Linked DNA regions of Homo sapiens: all the other regions are linked to region 3. The links are contacts of gene promoters, found by promoter capture Hi-C in blood cells and fetal thymus (Javierre and others, 2016). All regions are on one chromosome and are shown on one strand. Each heading gives the region's core, a stretch centred on a gene start or on the middle of the fragment in contact. The rest is flanking DNA. Distances are from core to core; before and after follow the strand shown.

Region 1 (2,700 bases), core at 119-2,618, 680 kb before region 3:
CCTGGCGGGCACACCTGGTGGTGGGCTTGGAGGCAGGGTGTAAGGAGACCTGCCTCCAGGTAGGAGGGAGGGGAAGGGAGGGAAGCCACAAGCTGCATGTGGCCGGAGGGGGTGAGGGTGCGAGGCAGGGAGGCCGGCCAGGTGGGTGCAGAGGGGCAGCAGGATGTGGGGGCTCCTGATGACACTGTCCTGTCTCTGCCCTCAGAGGCTCTGCTGCTCATGTTCATGGAGTCCCACGTCCACCAGGCCCTTTGAATCTCGAGTTTCTGGCTTCAGATGCCCCCAGGTTTCCAGAAGTCAAGATTTCTAACAAATGGACCCAAACCCCAAGCCAGCACCTGGAAGTGGCAGCAACACGGCTGTGTGGACCCCGGTGCTGGGAACCTTCTGGAGGCAGCTGGACACAGGGGCTGCCAGTGTGGAGAGGGACGCTGCTCATTTTGACATTTCATCTGAATAACGTTCCAAGTGTTCTAATGAAAGCCTCTGCGCTCCCTTTGAAATACTAGCAATTACAAAGATGAATAATTGCATGATAAATATTAATTTGCACCATCGTAATGAGGCCCAGAAGCATCCTGCTGCTAAGTGAGAATTTAGCTCTTTCCCCTCCCGGGCAGGGGAGGTGCTGCTCACAGCCCCTGGGGGATGCTGCCCTGCTCTGAGAGGCCCAGTACCACCGTGGCCAGCTCGCTGGGCGGGACAACGGCAAGCCCGAGCACCACCCTGCTCCTGCCACTACCTCGCTTGATGACAAAGGGCACATTGCTTCCTTCCTCTGGGCATTGTCTATTTGAGTTTTCCAAATAGACAATGGCGAAATTGGGTGAGATGACCTCTAAGGGCTCTGCCAACTCAGGCAGTCCAGGAGGTGACATCTAGAATTCCAGACTGCCTGTGGTCTACTGGTGGGAAATCCACCCCGTCCAGAGCCTCCCCTCCAGGCGCCCTCTCTCTGGGTGCTCCCGCTCTGCCTGGCATCTGGGAGACGAGCGGGTATTTGCTGAATGAAAAGCGATATCCCTTTGCCCAGAAACAGCATCTCACAGCTTTTCTTCCTTGGTCTTCACGAAATCAAAACTGACAAGTTGCCCTCCTTCCAGCTGAGTAAGTGTGGCCATCACACCCCACCCTCAGGAAGGAGGAAAAAGTGGCAGCTTGCAGCAGAGATGGAACATCCCCAAACCACAGTGACAGCACAAAGGGCTGCCTGTCTGGTTCCAGTCCCCCAAGTAAAGGACACCTGGAGTCTTCGCAGAGGCCGCTGCTTCCCCTAACGGCCCTGCCTTTTGGCGCTGAGTGTCTGCAGACCTTTGGCAACCTTTGCAAATATCATCCTCACAGAGGAGAGCTGCACCTCTTCCATCTTAAGCAGTGAACCCAGGATGCTTGGCGATCTTGGGGCTTGTTTTTTCCTCTAAACACCTGCTGTGTGTTTTATTGGGCAAGCCGTCCTTTCTGCGTCTGGGCTCCCTTGAGTCTGCAAACCTTCTTCTCTGAGTATCGTCCACTGCTGGATCTGATCCTCTGGCAAGGATCAGATTCCCCCTGTCTGCCACCCAGCAGGGAGCATGCGGGGCCACCGAAGGCACTTCCCCCAGAAATACAGCAGCCAGGCTCCAGTCAGGGGCAAACATGTCAGAAACCACACACACACACACGCACACACGCTACATGCCCATGAGGCTGAGGCTCCAGACCATGGGGCTGTGTGTGTGGCCTCAGAAGTGCATCTTGTGGGCTCTCTGTGCCCTCATGCCCCTCCTCCCCAGGGTGGACTCATGCAGCAAGAGAAGGGCTGTGTATGTGTGTATGTGTGTGTGTGTGTGGTATCTGTGTGGTATATGGTGTGTGTGTGTGTGGTGTGTGTGTGTTTGATGTGTGTGTGATGTGTGATGTGTGTGTGGTGTGTATGTGATATGTGGTGTGTGTGTGCAGGGTGTGTGTGGTGTACGATGTATGTGGTACATGGTGTGTGTGTGTGACATGTGATATGTGGCACATGGTTTGTGGTGTGTGGCATGGGATGTGTGTATGGTATATGTGTGCTATATGGTATGTGTGTGGTATATGTGTGTGGTGCATGTGTGTGTAATGTGTGGTGTATGGTGTGTGTGGTGTATGTGTGTGATATGTGGTGTGTGGCCTGTGGTGTGTGCGTGGTGTATGTGTGTATGGTGTATGTGGTGTGTGCATGTGATATGTGGTGTGTGCCATGTGATGTGTGTGGTGTGTGTATGGTGTATGTGGTGTATGTGTGTGACATGTGTGGTATGTGATGTGTGTGGTGTGTGTATGATGTATGTGGTGTATGTGTGTGATATGTGGCATGTACCACGTGTGTGTGTGTATGTGTGTGGTTTCTGACACGTGCCTCTGGAGCCCGGCTGCTGCATTTCTGGGGGAAGCGGCTTCAGTGCACCCCCCGGGCTCCCTGCTGGGTGGCAGACACGGGGAATCTGGGCCTTTTTGTTTTTTGCCTGTGTGGGTCTGTTTGCCTTGAGGATCCTGCTATCTTCAGCATTAGCAACACCCACCGCTTGATCATGGGTCCCAAGATTCTGGTTTGGTCGGCTCGAGGGCCGCCCGTCCTGACCGTGGGCTTGGGAGGGCGCCCCGGTCTCATCCTCACCACCTGTGTATATTGTGTGTCTTTTCCATCGCGGGCAGGGTCCTCTATGTTGATCTTGTTGAATCTCA
Region 2 (2,700 bases), core at 198-2,697, 770 kb before region 3:
GGGGTACCCTGGGCAGGGCTCATTTGTGTCTGAGACCAGGGAAGGGAAATGTCCCTCTGTTAAGGAAATGAGAGACAAAGGGACTCAGTCACACATCCCCAAAGCCACCAGAGTGGCCCCCACTCCAGACTCATTCACACATCCCCAAAGCCACCAGAGCCACCTCTGCTCCAGACTCATTCACACAACCCCAAAGCCACCAGAGCCACCCCTGCTCCAGACTCATTCACACATCCCCAAAGCCACCAGAGTGGCCCCTGCTCCAGGAAGGTGCCAGGCCCGATGGCATCAACCACGTCCTCTCCTCCCCAGGACCCAAACTCATTCCAAACTCCCCCTGGCCAGTGGGGTGTCGGCAGCTGGTAGAGGATCCCCTTGGTCACCAAGGGGGACCCTGATATCCTCAGAACTACCCTTCTGAAGGGCCTGCAATCCCTAAGCCTGGCTCAGCCCCGGCTGGACACCCAGGGGACAGGAACAGACCAGTAAGTCAGGGCAGCTCATGAACCCGGGACTCTGAGTTCTAGTCCATCAGCACTGCAAGTGACATCATGATCTCTGGGACACAGGCCAGCCAAAGGGAGGAGACAGCATACCCCTGAAGGGGCCAGTTTGGGGCCCAGGGAGGGGTACTATAGGCATGATACAGGGGCGGCCACTAAACACACTGCCCCGACTCGTCCCCACAAGGCTGCCAAGTGGGAGACCAGTCCCATTTTACAGACAGACAAACAGAGGCCCAGGGAGGCCGAGGCGTATGTCCGAGGTCAGAGTCAGCAAGTGGGGGAGCTGAGGCTGGAGCCCTGCGGGCTGGGCGGGAGAGAGAGACAGCCTCCATCTCGCCCACTCTCCCCGGGGCACGGCCCTCAGGTGGTGACCTCAGTTGCCCACGCCCTGCCTGCTTTCCTAGGCACTGCCTGCTCTGGAGGGGCACGTCCGCCCCCTGGTGGCGAAGCCTGGTGTTCCCTCAAAGCCGACCCAAAAGTGCCTTCTGCCCCCTGAGGAGCAGCCTGGTCAGTCCCGGACACCCTGGAAGAGGCCTGGCAACGTGCTGGGCACGGAAAGCCATGGGGAGTGCCTGGCTCTGTCCCCACAGTCTCTGCCATCCGGGCCGTCCCATCCCTTCCCTGAGATGGGCGAGAAGGGTGACACCACTGCCCTGTGAGGGCACAGAAAAAATCCACACACAGTCACAGGGGCACGCCAAGGGCTTGGTGACCGCCGCCAGGGTGGTCGCACGGCAGAAGGAGGTTCCTGAGTCAGGGCCACCACGCTGGGGGAGCCCAGGGTACTCGCGGTGACTCCGGCACCAAGCACCAGGCCACCGGACCTGGTGGCCTTGGAGCCAGGATCAACTGTTATTATTCCCATTTCACGACTGGGGAAACTGAGGCTGTGTGGGGAACACAGCAAGGAACAAGAAAGACATGGTCCCTGCTACCAGAAGGTGAGCCCATCGTCCCTTCCTAGCTCTGCCATCTGATATGTTCATGTCCTGGCCGGGTGTGGTGGCTCACGCCTGTGATCCCAGTACTTTAGGAGGCTGAGGCCAGTGGATCACCTGAGGTCAGGAGTTGGAGACTACCCTGGCTAACATGGTGAAACCCTGTCTCTACTAAAAATACAAAAATTAGCCGGATATGGTGGTGCACACCTGTAGTCCCAGCTACTAGGGAGGCTGAGGCAGGAGAATCGCTCGAACCCTGGAAGCGGAGTTTACAGTGAGCCAAGATCGTGCCACTGCACTCTAGCCTGGGCGACAGAGCAGGACTGCATCTCAAATAAATAAATAAATAAATAAATAAATAAATACGTAAGTTCATGTCTTCCTTGGTCCCACAGCAGCCTTGAGGTTTGAAGGTGGACCGCTTCCTTTAAGTCTTCTCTTGACCAGCTGAGCTACCAGGACTCCATCTGAGCCCTTCTCCACCCTGGTGGTCTGGTTCTGTGCACCCAAGACACGTGCCCTCCTTTTGTTCTGGATTTCAGTTCTAGGGGCCGGGGAGGGGGCTCTGGCCAGCAGGTCCCTGGTCTTAATACACCAGACGTCACACATGCACCTGCATAAGATTCTCTCTCCAAGCCACCTTCCCACCTGTCAGCCAGGTCTTGAACACCAATCGGTTTCCAAAGTCTCTTCTGGGGCAGGTGTTTTATAACCTGATTCTAGTCTCTCAATAGGTGCCTCTGTGGTATAAGGAGGTGACTGTCCAAGCTCGAGGATGGCATTGCAGAGACAGGTTTTGGAATCTCCCAAACTGGGTCTGCCCTCAGCTCTGCCACCTCCTTTGTGTCAAAGTTGTCAGAATTGGCTGGACGCGGTGGCTCATGCCTGTTATGCCAGCACTTTGGGAGGCTGAGGCGGGTGGATCACCTGAGGTCAGGAATTCCAGACCAGCCTGGCCAACATGGTGAAACCCCATCTCTACTAAAAATACAAAAATTAGCCAAGTGTGGTGGTGTGTGCCTGTAATCCCAGCTACTCAGGAGGCTGAGGCAGGAAAATCACTTAAACCTGGGAGGTGGAGGTTTCAGTGACTGTGCCATTGCACTCCAGCCTGGGTGACAGAGAGGGACTCTGTATCAAAAAAAAAAAAAAAAAAAAAAAAAGTTGTCAGAATCAAAATGGAATCACTTGTGTTTAAAAAAACCCTGACAGGCTGGGCGCACTTTGGGAGACCGAGATGGGTGGATCACTTG
Region 3 (2,700 bases), core at 80-2,579:
CACTCCAGCCCCCAGGAAGGGTCCCAAACACTGGAGGAGGAGGAGGAGGAGGAAACAACTTTCCTCTTTCAAGGTACCCCTCCCCACTAGACTCCAGTTAGCCTGCCCTGGAGGATGCCCAGGGTTGCCCTTCTGGGAGGCTACCCAGCCCCCAGAAGGCTGGGCTGCGACCCAGAGAGCGTAGGCAGCAGGGAGCAGTGGCTCACGCCTGTAACCCCAGCATTCTGGGAGGCCGAGGTGGGCAGATCACGAGGTCAGGAGATCGAGACCATCCTGGCTAACACGGTGAAACCCCGTCTCTACTAAAAAATACAAAAAATTAGCCGGGCTTGGTGGCTGGCGCCTGTAGTCCCAGCTACTCGGGAGGCTGAGGCAGGAGAATGGCGTGAACCTGGGAGGTGGAGCTTGCAGTGAGTTGAGATCACGCCACTGCACTCCAGCCTGGGCGACTGAGCGAAACTCCGTCTCAAAAAAAAAAAAAGAAAAAAAGAAAAGAAAAGCGCAGGCGCGGGGTGTCTTGAGTCCCTCAATCCCCAGAGGGAAGGAGCCCACCGTGGGGGACCGGCCAAAGCCCCACTCTTTGTCCGGCCCAGGGCAAATCGGCCCCTCGGCAGCTCAGCCCGTCCAGCCCCTCCCGAGAGGACACAGGGGACCCGGAGTCCGCAGGGGCCAGCACTACCCTCCGCCCCGGGTCCCGCTCCCTACTCCCCGTCGCTCCGAGACGCTCCGACTCTCAGTCCGGAGGTGAGGGTCTCCCTTCATGCACGGGCGCCTGATGGGGGTAGGGGTGGGGACGCACGAGAGTCCCAGGCTTCGGCCCGGACCGCTCGGGGTTCCAACGCCCCCTTCCCGGGCCCAGGAACAGCGCCCCCGCAGGAAGCATCTGCCTCGGAGGGGGCCCTCGGGATGCACCCCGCCGTGTCCGCGTCCGATGCCCGCTCCTCCAGGGCCCCGCGACCCCTGGGGATCCCCCGCTCCCCGGCCTAGGGGGCACCCACTCCGCACGTGGAGCCCGGGCAGCGTCCCCAGACGCACCCAGCGGGATACCGGAGAGGACGCCGACGCAGTGCAACGCCCCGGCCGAAGCGCCGAACAACATGCGCGCGTCGCGGAGGAGGTGCGGGGCGTGCTCGCTCAGGCAGCGGGTCGCCCCGACGTGGTAGAAGCCCAGGAAGCCGCAGCCCGCGAAGGACAAGCTCCAGCCGCGCTCTGCGTCGTACATGGCGGCGGCGGCGGGGCGGGGGCGCGGGTTAGGATCTGGGTCGGGATCGGGAATCGGCTCGGGTCCTGATCCGCAGCAGCTCCGCCCGGCGCCCGCAAGCGCTCTCTACCCTGCCTCAGTGTCTCGGCCAGGGCATTCCCAGCGCGACGTCAGCCCCGCCCCCCTCGGACCATGCAAATGAGCCGGCGGGAGGCCCAATGAGCGGGCAGGACGCCCTCCCGGGCGGGGCTTGGAGGGGGATGGGGGTGGGGACGACGTCTGGCGGGGGATGGGGGCGGGGACCGGGTCTGGGAGGGGGATTGGGGGCGGGGGCTGGGAGGGCGATGGCGGAGGACCTGTGCGGGGGGGTCCAGCCTGGGAGCTCCCCGCAGCGACTCGAGAGAAAGCATTTTTCCAAAACTCCAGCAGACACTGCATGTCCTGGAGAGAAACGGCTTCCTTCTGTTTTCCTTGACATCTGTTAAGTCGGGGGGTGGGAGGGGAGTCGCAGTTGGTGCCCACTTGATCCTTAACATCACTTTAACACTTTATCACGTCCCTTTTGACCCGGGGAGAGCCAGCCTAAAGCAGGCACCACCACCTGAAGAGTCTACTCTCTGCGTTGTTGCAGGCTTTCTGTATGATTGCCTTCAAGTGCTGGGGATTTTTTTCATTGAATGAAAGTAACAGGAAGTGTCCATTTCAAAGTTTCCTTTGTAAGTAAAAAATGTGAATGACGGGTGCTGGGGCTGGGGTCGGGGCCCTGTAGGAACTGGGGAGTGGGGAGTGCTTTGGGAAGCTGAGGCCTGGATGATTCCTGGTCCCTTAGTCCCTTAGTCCGTTCAGGTGCGAAAACAAAACACCTTAAAGCGGAGGGGCTTACAAACAAGAGATTTATTTCTATCTTTTTCCCCCCAGGCTGGAGTGCAATGGCACGATCTTGGCCCACTGCAGCCTCTTCCTCCCGGGTTCAAGGGATTCTCCTGCCTCAGCCTCACGAGTAGCTGGGATTACAAGCATGCGCCACCATGCCTGACTAATTTTTTGTATTTTTAGTAGAGATGGGGTTTCACCATGTTGGCCAGGCTAGTCTAGAACTCCTGACCTCAAGTCATCACCCACCTCAGCCTCCCAAAATGCTGGGATTACAGGGGTGAGCCACTTCGCCTGGCTTATTTCTCTGTCTCACAGTTCTGGAGGCTGGAAAGCCCAAGTTCAAGATACCAGCAGATTTGGTCCCTGGTGAGAGGTATGGCTCGTAGAAGGTGCCATCTTGCCACATCCTCACCTCTGGGCCTCTTTGATAAGGGCACCAATCCCATTCATAAGGGTGCCACCCTCTCATCAAATCACCTTCCAAAGGCCCCCGCCTCCAAAGATCATCACCTTAAGGTGTAGGATTTCAACAGATGACCTTTAGTGGGGACACAAACATTTGGATAGTAGCATGCCCTTAGGAGATGCCTAAGAGGCCCCTTGACCTTGACCTACCCCTGGCA
Region 4 (2,700 bases), core at 141-2,640, 740 kb before region 3:
GCGCCCCCTCCCCAAGCCCCGACCTGAGCGGGGCGCTAGAAGCCGGGAGGACAAATCAGACGGTCAGACTCAGTCCCTGTCCCGGGGATCGGGGTCCAGCCGCGGGCGGAGCGGGGAGGGAGGGGAAGACGAATGGGCCTGGCACCAAAAACAGCCCAGGGCTGTGGTTCTCAAAGTGTGGCCTCCGTTAGTGCAGAGTCCCTGGCCCCACCCCGGACCTACAGAAGCAAAACTCGGGGTTGGGCCCCCTATTTTAACAAGCCTTCTGGGTGGTTCCAGAGTTCAGTAAAGTTTGAGAAGAACTGCCCTGGTGGAAACATCCAGCACCCCACATCCTGCACCCCACAACCCACATCCCACACCCCAGTGTCTCGAAAAGGGCTTCTTTTCACTCTTCACTTAAACAGCCTCACCCTGTTTAAGTACCTCTCCGTTGGTACGTGGCTGTGGTGGGGGCAGTGGGCGGGGAGCAGTGGTGTCTGTCCCAGGAATCCCCGAAAGGATTGACAGTCAGTGCCTGGTAGAAGCCGCAAGTCCTGTACCAGAGGCCAGGCTGTGGGCATTCGGGCGGTGATGGTTATGGTTATTGTGTTTTGGTGTAGTGATTGTTTTAATGTTTTAGAATGCAATTGTGCAAATATTTGTGTCCATATTCAGTTGTAAAGCTTTTTTTTTCCCCTTCCATCATTGTGCTTGTTTGACGCTAAGCCACTCATCCCCCAGAAACAGTGTTGACATGAGGCAGATCAGATGGCCGGCCTTCCTGGTGACCAGATTTCAGGACAGCAAGCATCCCGGCCAGACCCCAGGTACTCTAATGGGGTCCATAGGGCCCTGGGAGTGAGCAGCTCTGCCTGAACTGCAGGATGGGGCATCCTAGAGGGAGGAGAGGGCATCTGGACAGAGGGGCCTAAAGTGTCTGGGTGGCATCTAGACTGGGCAGACAGTGCCTGGATCGAGTACTGGGGTGGGGCTGGAAACGGCCCAAGAGGTGCCAGAAGGAGGTGGAGCTGTTCTGAGCCCCGTGCTGCCAAGAGGGATGTCCTGGCCTTGGAGGGACCTTTGAGGTCATCTAATCCAGCCTCTTGGTGTGTGACCACTAGGACCTCCCCCACTTCTAATTAAACTTTCCTTCTTTCTTTCTTTTTTTTTTTTCTTGAGACCGAGTCTCGCTCTGTTACCCAGGCTGGAGTGCAGTGGTGCCATCTTGGCTCATTGCAACCTCTGCCTCCTGATTTCGAGTGGTTCTCCTGCTTCAGCCTCCTGAGTAGCTGGGGCTACAGGTGCCTGCCACCATGCCCGACTAATTTTTGTATTTTTAGTAGAGACAGGGTTTCACTATGTTGGCCAGGCTGGTCTCAAACTCCTGACCTCAGGTGATCCACCCGCCTGGGCCTCCCAAAATCCTGGGATTACAGGTGTGAGGCAGCACGCCCAGCCTAAACTTTCTTATTTTGAGATAATTGTAGATTCACATGCAGCTATAAGAAACAGTAGAGATGTCTTGGACCCAGTTTTCTCCACTGGTAAAATCTTGCAAAATTATACTACAATATCACAACCAGGATATTGACATAGATGCCATCAAGGTACAGAACATTCCATCAGCAAAGGACCCCCCCGTGGACTTTTTATGTGCTTATCTCCCTCCCTCCTCCCTCCTGGCAAGCACTTATCTGTTCTCCATTTCTGTAATTTTATCATTTCAAGCATGTTATATAAATGCAGTCATACAGTATGTTACCTTTTGAGATTGCTTTTTTCACTCAGCATAAATCCCTGAAGATTCTTCCAGGTTGCTTTGTGTTTCAGTAGTTTGTTCCTTGCTATTGTGGAGTGGTCAGCATTCCATGGAATGGGTGCATCATAATTTGTTTAGCCATTCACTTGTCGAAGACTATCTGGGTTGATTGCCAGTTTGGGGCTATTACCAATAAAGCTGCTATAAACATTTGTGTACAGGTTTTTGTGTGAACATAAGTTTTCATTTGTCTGGGAAGAGTGCCCAGGAGTGTAATTGCTGGGTCGTATGGGAGTTGCATGTTTAGATTTTTAAGAAACTGCCAAAATGTTTTCCAGAGTGTACCACTTTGCCTTCCCAGCAGCAAAGCTTGAGTGATCCAGTTTCTCTGCATCCCTACCAGCATTTCGTCTTGTCCCTGTGTTTTATTTTTGCCATGCTGATAGGTGTGTAGTGAGATCTCATGGTTTTAATTTGCCTTCCTCTAACGACTATTGATGTTAAAGATTCAAAACGATCTTGAGAGCTTATTTACCATCTGTAAATCCTATGAGTGGTAGGTGTGTTCATGTCTTTTGCCTATTTTCTAATTGGATTTTTTTTTTAAAAAATGTTCATTAAATTTCTTTCTCTCTCTCTCTCTCTCTCTCTCTCTCTCTCTCTCCCTCTCTCTCTTTTTTTTTTTTTTTTTGATGGAGTTTCACTCTTGTTGCCCAACCTGGAGTGCAGTGGCACAATCTTGGCTCACTGCAACCTCTGCCTCCTGGGTTCAAGCGATTCTCCTGCCTCAGCCTCCCGAGCAGCTGGGATTACAGGCGCGCGCCACCACATCTGGCTAATTTTTTGTATTTTTAGTGGAGACAGGGTTTCACTATGTTAGCTAGGCTGGTCTTGAACTCCTGACCTCAGGTGATCCTCCCACCTCGGCCTCCCAAAATGTTGGGATTGCAGGCGTGAGC

What was found. The method cuts DNA at HindIII sites, captures the fragments that hold promoters and counts their contacts. A CHiCAGO score of 5 or more calls a contact.
Region 1: a contact is called between a fragment that was not itself captured here and the fragment with the promoter of PNPLA3 in region 3, in 1 of 17 cell types (fetal thymus). The highest score is 5.5, in fetal thymus.
Region 2: a fragment that was not itself captured here is called in contact with the fragment with the promoter of PNPLA3 in region 3 in 1 of 17 cell types (monocytes); the score reaches 5.2 in monocytes.
Region 4: a fragment that was not itself captured here is called in contact with the fragment with the promoter of PNPLA3 in region 3 in 3 of 17 cell types (M1 macrophages, M0 macrophages and erythroblasts); the score reaches 8.0 in M1 macrophages.

The regions. Positions count from the first base shown.
Region 1 is chr22:44,604,151-44,606,850 of GRCh38, reverse strand. It overlaps LINC00229 (long intergenic non-protein coding RNA 229), which reads left to right. Exons shown (of 5, transcript NR_044991.1): 5 at 206-523. Among named protein-coding and RNA genes, the nearest start is that of LINC00229, 20 kb to the left of the region's middle. The HindIII fragment of the contact is 4,678 bases long and covers 1-2,700 here.
Region 2 is chr22:44,695,834-44,698,533 of GRCh38, reverse strand. It overlaps a transcript of PRR5 not described here. Among named protein-coding and RNA genes, the nearest start is that of PRR5, 5.0 kb to the left of the region's middle. The HindIII fragment of the contact is 4,492 bases long and covers 1-2,700 here.
Region 3 is chr22:43,922,434-43,925,133 of GRCh38, reverse strand. It overlaps PNPLA3 (patatin like domain 3, 1-acylglycerol-3-phosphate O-acyltransferase), which reads right to left and starts at 1,329. Exons shown (of 9, transcript NM_025225.3): 1 at 1,036-1,329. The coding sequence starts at 1,222. RefSeq lists enhancers at 27-769, 770-1,514. The HindIII fragment of the contact is 6,907 bases long and covers 1-2,700 here.
Region 4 is chr22:44,665,693-44,668,392 of GRCh38, reverse strand. It overlaps LOC124905132 (a long non-coding RNA gene), which reads left to right. Exons shown (of 3, transcript XR_007068127.1): 1 at 1-62; 2 at 724-809. Among named protein-coding and RNA genes, the nearest start is that of PRR5, 35 kb to the left of the region's middle. The HindIII fragment of the contact is 1,445 bases long and covers 668-2,112 here.